Regions from separate parts of the Homo sapiens genome. Here region 1 is linked to region 2. Evidence: promoter capture Hi-C in 16 types of primary human blood cells and fetal thymus (Javierre and others, 2016). All regions are on one chromosome and are shown on one strand. The core of a region is centred on a gene start or on the middle of the fragment in contact, and the rest is flanking DNA. Distances in the headings are between cores, read along the strand shown.

Region 1 (3,095 bases), core at 596-3,095, 3.8 Mb before region 2:
CACTCCAGCCTGGGCAACAGAGTGAGACCCTGTCTCAAACAATAAAAATAATAAAAAAAAAAAAAAAGAGTTTTTATAAATCATAAAGAAGTTGGTTTTGTTTGCATACCACTGATTTTTAAAACTCCTTTTTTAAATAAACACTGGGGTGAAATATCACCAAGGCATTCCTGGCAAATTCTGTACTTTAAAGTTTCACTCTAAAATCTGCCCTCAAATCTAGAACTGCTATCAATGACAGAGGTCAGACCAAAGAACAAGCAACTGCCCCCAAAAGAAAACGGAGGTTTCCTAAACGCAAAGCAGACATTCAAATATGCACTGATCAATGGTGCACTAAACAACACTTTGCTAGGAATTTGTTAAGGCAAAAGGACCCTTTCTACAGTGAATGCAAACTATCTAAGAATGAATTTTTAAAAGTTTAATATTTTTAAATATTTTGGTAGAGACGGAGTCTCATTAGGTTGCCCAGGCTGGCCTCCAACTCCTGGGCTCAAGGGATCCACCTTCCACCTCCCAAAGTGTTGGGATTACAAGCATGAGCCACTGAGCGCCCGCCTGAATGACATTTAAATACCAATATATTAAAGCATGAAAAACACTGAGTTAACTAACATCTATGTGATAGCTCTTCTAACACCTTACTTGAAAAGTCTAAGTCAGAAATGGAACATTTCAGTAGTAACTGCGAGGGCATACTTACTAAATGAGTGAGCATTACATAGGTGTTCAGTGTTTGACAGTTCCTTTAAACCAAAAGAGAAAATTCCATTGCTTCAGGGTAATACAGAACTCACGTATCTAATAGTAACTAATATATTTTTGAAAAATCTGCTTAAATAACAAGATCACTGAGTATTTAAACTGAAAATATTGTTTTCTTCTGAGACATCATATGACCTATAGAGGAATTTATCTACAATCTCATTTCAATAACCTGATAATAATAATGCATCTATAAGTGGCTTAGCAATATTAAAAAGCTTGACTCAATTCAAGTTATAAATTTAAACTTCAACCACTAGACTGTGATCTCAAATAAGTTAATTTCTCTTTTGCAGATGTGAAAACCCAGGCTGAGATGAAATAAGGGTGATTCAATCACACTCGCCTAACTTGAAACGTAGGAAATGTATCAGTGAATAACTGTGAAATACTTTTTGCCAGGCACGGTGGCTCACGCCTGTAATCCTAGCACTTTGGGAGGCCGAGGCGGGCGGATTACCTGAGCTCAGGAGTTCGAGATCTGCCTGGGCAACATGATGAAACCCCATCTCTACTAAAATACAACAACAAAAAATTAGCCGGGCGTGGCGGCGTGTGCCTGTAGTCCCAGCTACTTGGGAGGCTGAGGCAGGAGAACTGCTTGAACCCGGGAGGCGTAGGTTGCAGTGAGCCGAGACCGTGCCACTGCACTCCAGCCTGGAGACAGAGGGAGACTTCGTCTCAAAAAATAAATAAATAAAAATAAAGACATACTTTTTATTCAAGCATGCTAGACTGCAAACATGCCTTTAGAATAAAAGTGACGAGATTACGAGTACTTAGAGGGTTCATATTTTTCAAACGTGAAAGTTAGGGTGTGTGACAAGTTAGGTATTTGACAAGTATTCTAGGGAACGGTGGAAGTGAATATTTAAAATTCAGCTATCCCCAGAAAAACCCAATACATGAAATCATTACAAGTATTTTTTAGAATCAGTCAGCAAAGATCATTACTGTACAAACACTTCAAAGTTAAGGTCACTAAGAAAGCACTAACTCCTCCCTTCTGTTAACTAATCACTGTAAAGCAGCCCAACTCTCCTTTCTACCTACCTCAGATTAATATTTTTCTCCATGGACAGATTTCCGTGCTCAGGGATATATAATAGGGGAGAAAAAAAAATACCACACAAGTGTCAGTAAGCACCAAAAAGCTAAGTATTCAGCACAGGGAGGGAATCCACATATGAGAAAACATTTGACAGCTCTTGCCTCCCAAAAGCCATTTAATCTGCTTCATAAACATAATCTGCTTCATAAACATTACCCTGAGCGAGTGGTTCGATGGATCTCCTACACCGAGTCCTAACCGGGAAACACAATCAACCGAACCGTCCCGACTCTTTCAGGCAATCAGGAAGACCGGGAGAATTATTAGACGCTGACGTCCGCAGGGCCAGGAGCTGAGAAAAGGGTAAACAGTATACTCGCAGGTAGGTTGAAAAAAACAAAACAACAACATATACACACACACACGAAAAATTGGGAAAGAAGTTGGTCGGAAGGTTAGAGAGAGGCGAGGCCGATGTCCGGTTCCGAGAGGACGGCACTGCAGGGGCAGGCAGCGATTAACTGGGCATTTGGATATGCTGGGAGTTATCTGACAGACCTGACACGGGTACAAGACACAAGAACGCTGATACGTGGCTCAGAGAAGACACGCGGGGGTGGGGCCCGCCCCGCTAAACCCCAGGCTCCCTGAATGAGCCCTCAAAGATCGCAGCCTGAGAAAGTCAAGGGTTCAAGGAGGCCCGTACCGGCGGGGCAACGCCACAACACGGAACGCCGCGGCGCGCGGAACCTCCCGGTCCGAGGCCTCGGGGTCGGCCCTCCAGAAGTCGGAGCAGCCCCTGGGGCTCCCGGCCTCTCCTGGCCCAGCTTCTCTGTCTTCTCTTCTCAACACCCACAGCCTGGGACTGGACCCCTGAAACTGAAAGGAAGCTTCCGGTCGAGCGCCCGCGGCAGCGGCGGGGCAAAAGCAGCAATATGCTCTCAGCGCCGGGAGTGACACTCACCGGCCCGAAACCTCGAATGAAACCAGCAGCTCCGGGGGCGGCGGCAGCAGTGGCAGCAGGAACCGAACATCCAAAATGGCGGCTCCCTCGGCCTCACCACCGCTACCGCAGGCGGAGGGATCCTGAGGAAGGAGGGAGTTTTTAACTAACTTCACACACTATTGAGGAAACTTCGCTCCCTGTCCTCCTCTCCTGGTCGTTTCCGTGTCCTCGTACTGCAACTTATCGTGCCTTTTCTCTCGAATTATCCAAGAACTCGGACCCTGCCGAGGACTATTTGCCAAGGAGGAGGCGACTGCTCCTGGCAGAGCG
Region 2 (3,244 bases), core at 496-2,995:
AAATCACTTACTTGAGGTGAGAAGTTCAAGACCAGCCTGGCGAACATGACAAAACCCCATCTCTACCAAAAATACAAAAATTAGCTGGGTGTGGTGGTGTGTCCCTGTAGTCCCAGCTACTCAGGAGGCTGAGGCAGCAGAATCGCTTGAACCCAGGAGGCAGACTGCAGTAAGCCAAGATTGTGCCACTGAACTCCAGCCTGGGTGACAGAGAAAGACCCTGTCTCCAAAAAACAAAAACAAAAACAAAGAAACAAAAAAACCTATTCTAGTTACTCAGACACACAGTCTTAAAATAACAAAAATACTTATAGAATGAAGCTAGATTCCACAGCATCGATCAGGAATTTCCAGTGTAGGAAATGATGAACTACCACATTCAAACATACAGGCTTTACAGGTGCATCAGAATCACAAGCACGTGGCAGGGTTCATGTGCCCAATTAAGTGAATATTCCTGCTACATGTTCAGCAGCTTATAAACAGATGGTGACCCAGACCAGACTGCCTTGATGAGTCTGCTTGGAAAAAAGGCATTACATCACTGATTGGAGAACCTCAAAGCATATGTCCGGGCAGGTGACACACACACAGCTCAGGCTGTGATTGCTAAACCACTCCCACAGCCAAATAAGGAAACCCATCTCATGACCAGCTCTCAGGGGAATTCTCCGAGTCTGACAGTCACCTCTAACTCCTCTGCCAGTTAAAATTAAGGGGTCTGTGATCAGTGATGTTACACTCCTCAAATGTGCATTTTTTTTTGAGGCGGAGTCTTGCTCTGTTGCCCAGGCTGGAGTGCAGTGGTGTGATCTCGGCTCACTGCCACCTCCACCTCCCTGGTTCAAACGATTCTCCTGCCTCAGCCTCCCGAGGAGCTGGGACTACAGGCGCCCACTACCATGCCTGGCTAATTTTTGTATTTTTAGTAGAGACGGGGTTTCACCATGTTGGCCAGGCTGGTCTTCAACTCCTGACCTCAGGTGATCCACCCGCGTCGGCCTCCCAAAGTGTTGGGATTACAGGCGTGAGCCACCGTACCCCGCCTCAAATGTGCATTTGTGATACCTTTTCGTAAATGTTTATTCAAATATTTATTCACGAATAAAGGAAGAAAACGGGATTTGTTTAAATTCAATTTCTAGGTCCAAGACAACCTACTACGGCTGTCCCTAATACGGACCTCCGGGTTGTCCTCAGTGCCGCTTCCAACAGTGTCCTCAAACACCCTCCCCTCCCATAATGAGCCCCCAACCTGTCACCACTCCGAGCAATACTCCCCAAACTGTCAACGCCCTAAACAGCTCCCTTGTTATCGCCAAGCTCTAGAAAGCCCTCCTTATGTCATTCTTACCCCTAAAGACCGTTCTTGTCACCAATTCCCCAGACTTCCCCTATGAACCGCTCTAAGAGCCCTCAGCTATCAGCCACACCCCCAAACAGCCCTCAGTAAGAGCCCTACACTATCAGCCAGACGTTTTCCGCCACCAACGCTCCCGAGACCCCACTCCTGTCACCAGTTCCCCGAACATTCCTGCGAGCAATGTCGCAGATACTGCTCACAGACGTCCCCATAACCAACTTCTTCGCCACCGCAGCCCAGGAGCCCCCAAAGGGGTCCTCCGCGGCCCCGCCCCTTTACGTGCGGCCCCGCCCCTTGGCGTGGCGCCCTGACAAATGGCGCCGGAAGCCCCGCCCCCGGCCGGTTGCTAGGCTCCGACAGCCGGAAGTCCCGCCTGCCGTGTAGTCGCCGCCGTCGCTGCCGCTGCCGCTGCCGCCGTCGTTGTTGTTGTGCTCGGTGCGCTGAGCTCCGCGGCTCCGCGAGCCGGTTCCGTCCCCTTCCCGCCGCCGCCATGAAGTGGATGTTCAAGGAGGACCACTCGCTGGGTAAGCACTTGGTCGTCGGCCCGGCTGCTGGGGGCTGGGGCGGCGGGTGGGCCCCCTCCCCCACTCGGGCGGCCCTGGGCCGAGTGGAGCGGGGCGGATGCCCTGCTGCGGGCTGGAGTCGCCCATGCCCTGGTGCCTCGGGCAGCGGCCCCCTGACCCCATGTCACCCTCCGCGGGCCTTGCTGGGAGCTAGTAGGGGACAGGACCGCGGCCCCGGGGACGCCGGAACCAGGGCCTGGGTTGTACGCAGGGCGCAGGAGGAGGAGGGCCGGGGGCCGGGAACCGACCGGTGGGCAGGCGCGGCCGTCAGCCCCGTTTGTTTCTCCCACAGAACACAGATGCGTGGAGTCCGCGAAGATTCGAGCGAAATATCCCGACAGGGTTCCGGTGAGTGGACTCTCCGCCCCCTCACCTCGCTGTCACCTCTGTCGTCTGGGACCCGTGATAGGCCCCAGGCCATTCAACAGTTGACAAGTTGAGGTTCCAGTCCCAGTTACAGTAGCTGACGGGCCAGACCGGGATGAGGCCGCCCAGGGCCGGGGCGTGAGGGGCTCGGGCTGGTGCTGTTCAGGGTGCCTCAGTGCTGAATCTCCCGATCTAGGCCAGCGAGCCGTCTGCAGCCTCGGGGCTCCCTGGCCAATTATGTAAGGAACGATGTTCTAGGACAGGGCAACAGGTCACTGCCACTTTTGGGAATGGTGGTGGAGGGAGACTGTCATTTTGGTCTTGGAAGTGGTACTTGAGTCTCAGGACGTTCATCTTTTACTTTGTCTCCATCTTTACCTAACTTCTAGCTCCGTTATCTCACCTTGACCCTGTCATCCTTGCCTGACCAAAATAATGTGAAAAGCCGCTGAAAACCCCTTCTGCCATATTTTCTTCTTAGTCAATAATAAATATAATGTTATATTTCTTCCATGGTTGGGGAGATAGTTTTGTAATCGTTATTAATTTTTAATGGACATTAAGGCCTGTTATTGTAGCTCTTTGCTTGTGAATAATTTGTCTGGGGAAAGGAGTAGGAGGGACGGATTTGAAACTTGTTCAGAGAGGAGCAACAGGCCAAATGAAGAACTTGGTTCTTGGCTGGCTAAAATTCCAGGCATTCCAATTAGTCCATCCATTCTTGTCTCCTGTGTTCCTTGGGAACACAGTAGTGTTTCCTGTAGTGTGAAGGTGGATCCATTCTGGGGTCCTGGAGTAACGGGCCATGGATGAAACCCTCCCCAGATATTCTTAGGTCTGCCCAGATAAAATGTGGAAAAGCTTAGTGGTAAGGGCTGCATTTCTCTTACATAATTGACCACAGAAAAGCACTTACTGTTTCCCTGTAACACATTTATATCAATTCTTAACC

The links. The method cuts DNA at HindIII sites, captures the fragments that hold promoters and counts their contacts. A CHiCAGO score of 5 or more calls a contact.
Region 1: a contact is called between a fragment that was not itself captured here and the fragment with the promoter of GABARAPL2 in region 2, in 1 of 17 cell types (non-activated CD4 T cells). The highest score is 5.4, in non-activated CD4 T cells.

Annotation. Positions count from the first base shown.
Region 1 is chr16:71,805,980-71,809,074 of GRCh38, forward strand. AP1G1 (adaptor related protein complex 1 subunit gamma 1) reads right to left here and starts at 2,855. Exons shown (of 23, transcript NM_001128.6): 1 at 2,784-2,855. It overlaps LOC124903714 (a long non-coding RNA gene), which reads left to right and starts at 2,979. Exons shown (of 2, transcript XR_007065110.1): 1 at 2,979-3,095. RefSeq lists enhancers at 1,986-2,633, 2,577-3,095. The HindIII fragment of the contact is 1,723 bases long and covers 985-2,707 here.
Region 2 is chr16:75,564,634-75,567,877 of GRCh38, forward strand. It overlaps GABARAPL2 (GABA type A receptor associated protein like 2), which reads left to right and starts at 1,746. Exons shown (of 4, transcript NM_007285.7): 1 at 1,746-1,887; 2 at 2,219-2,274. The coding sequence starts at 1,854. RefSeq lists a silencer at 1,809-2,218 and an enhancer at 2,208-2,961. The HindIII fragment of the contact is 5,212 bases long and covers 1-3,151 here.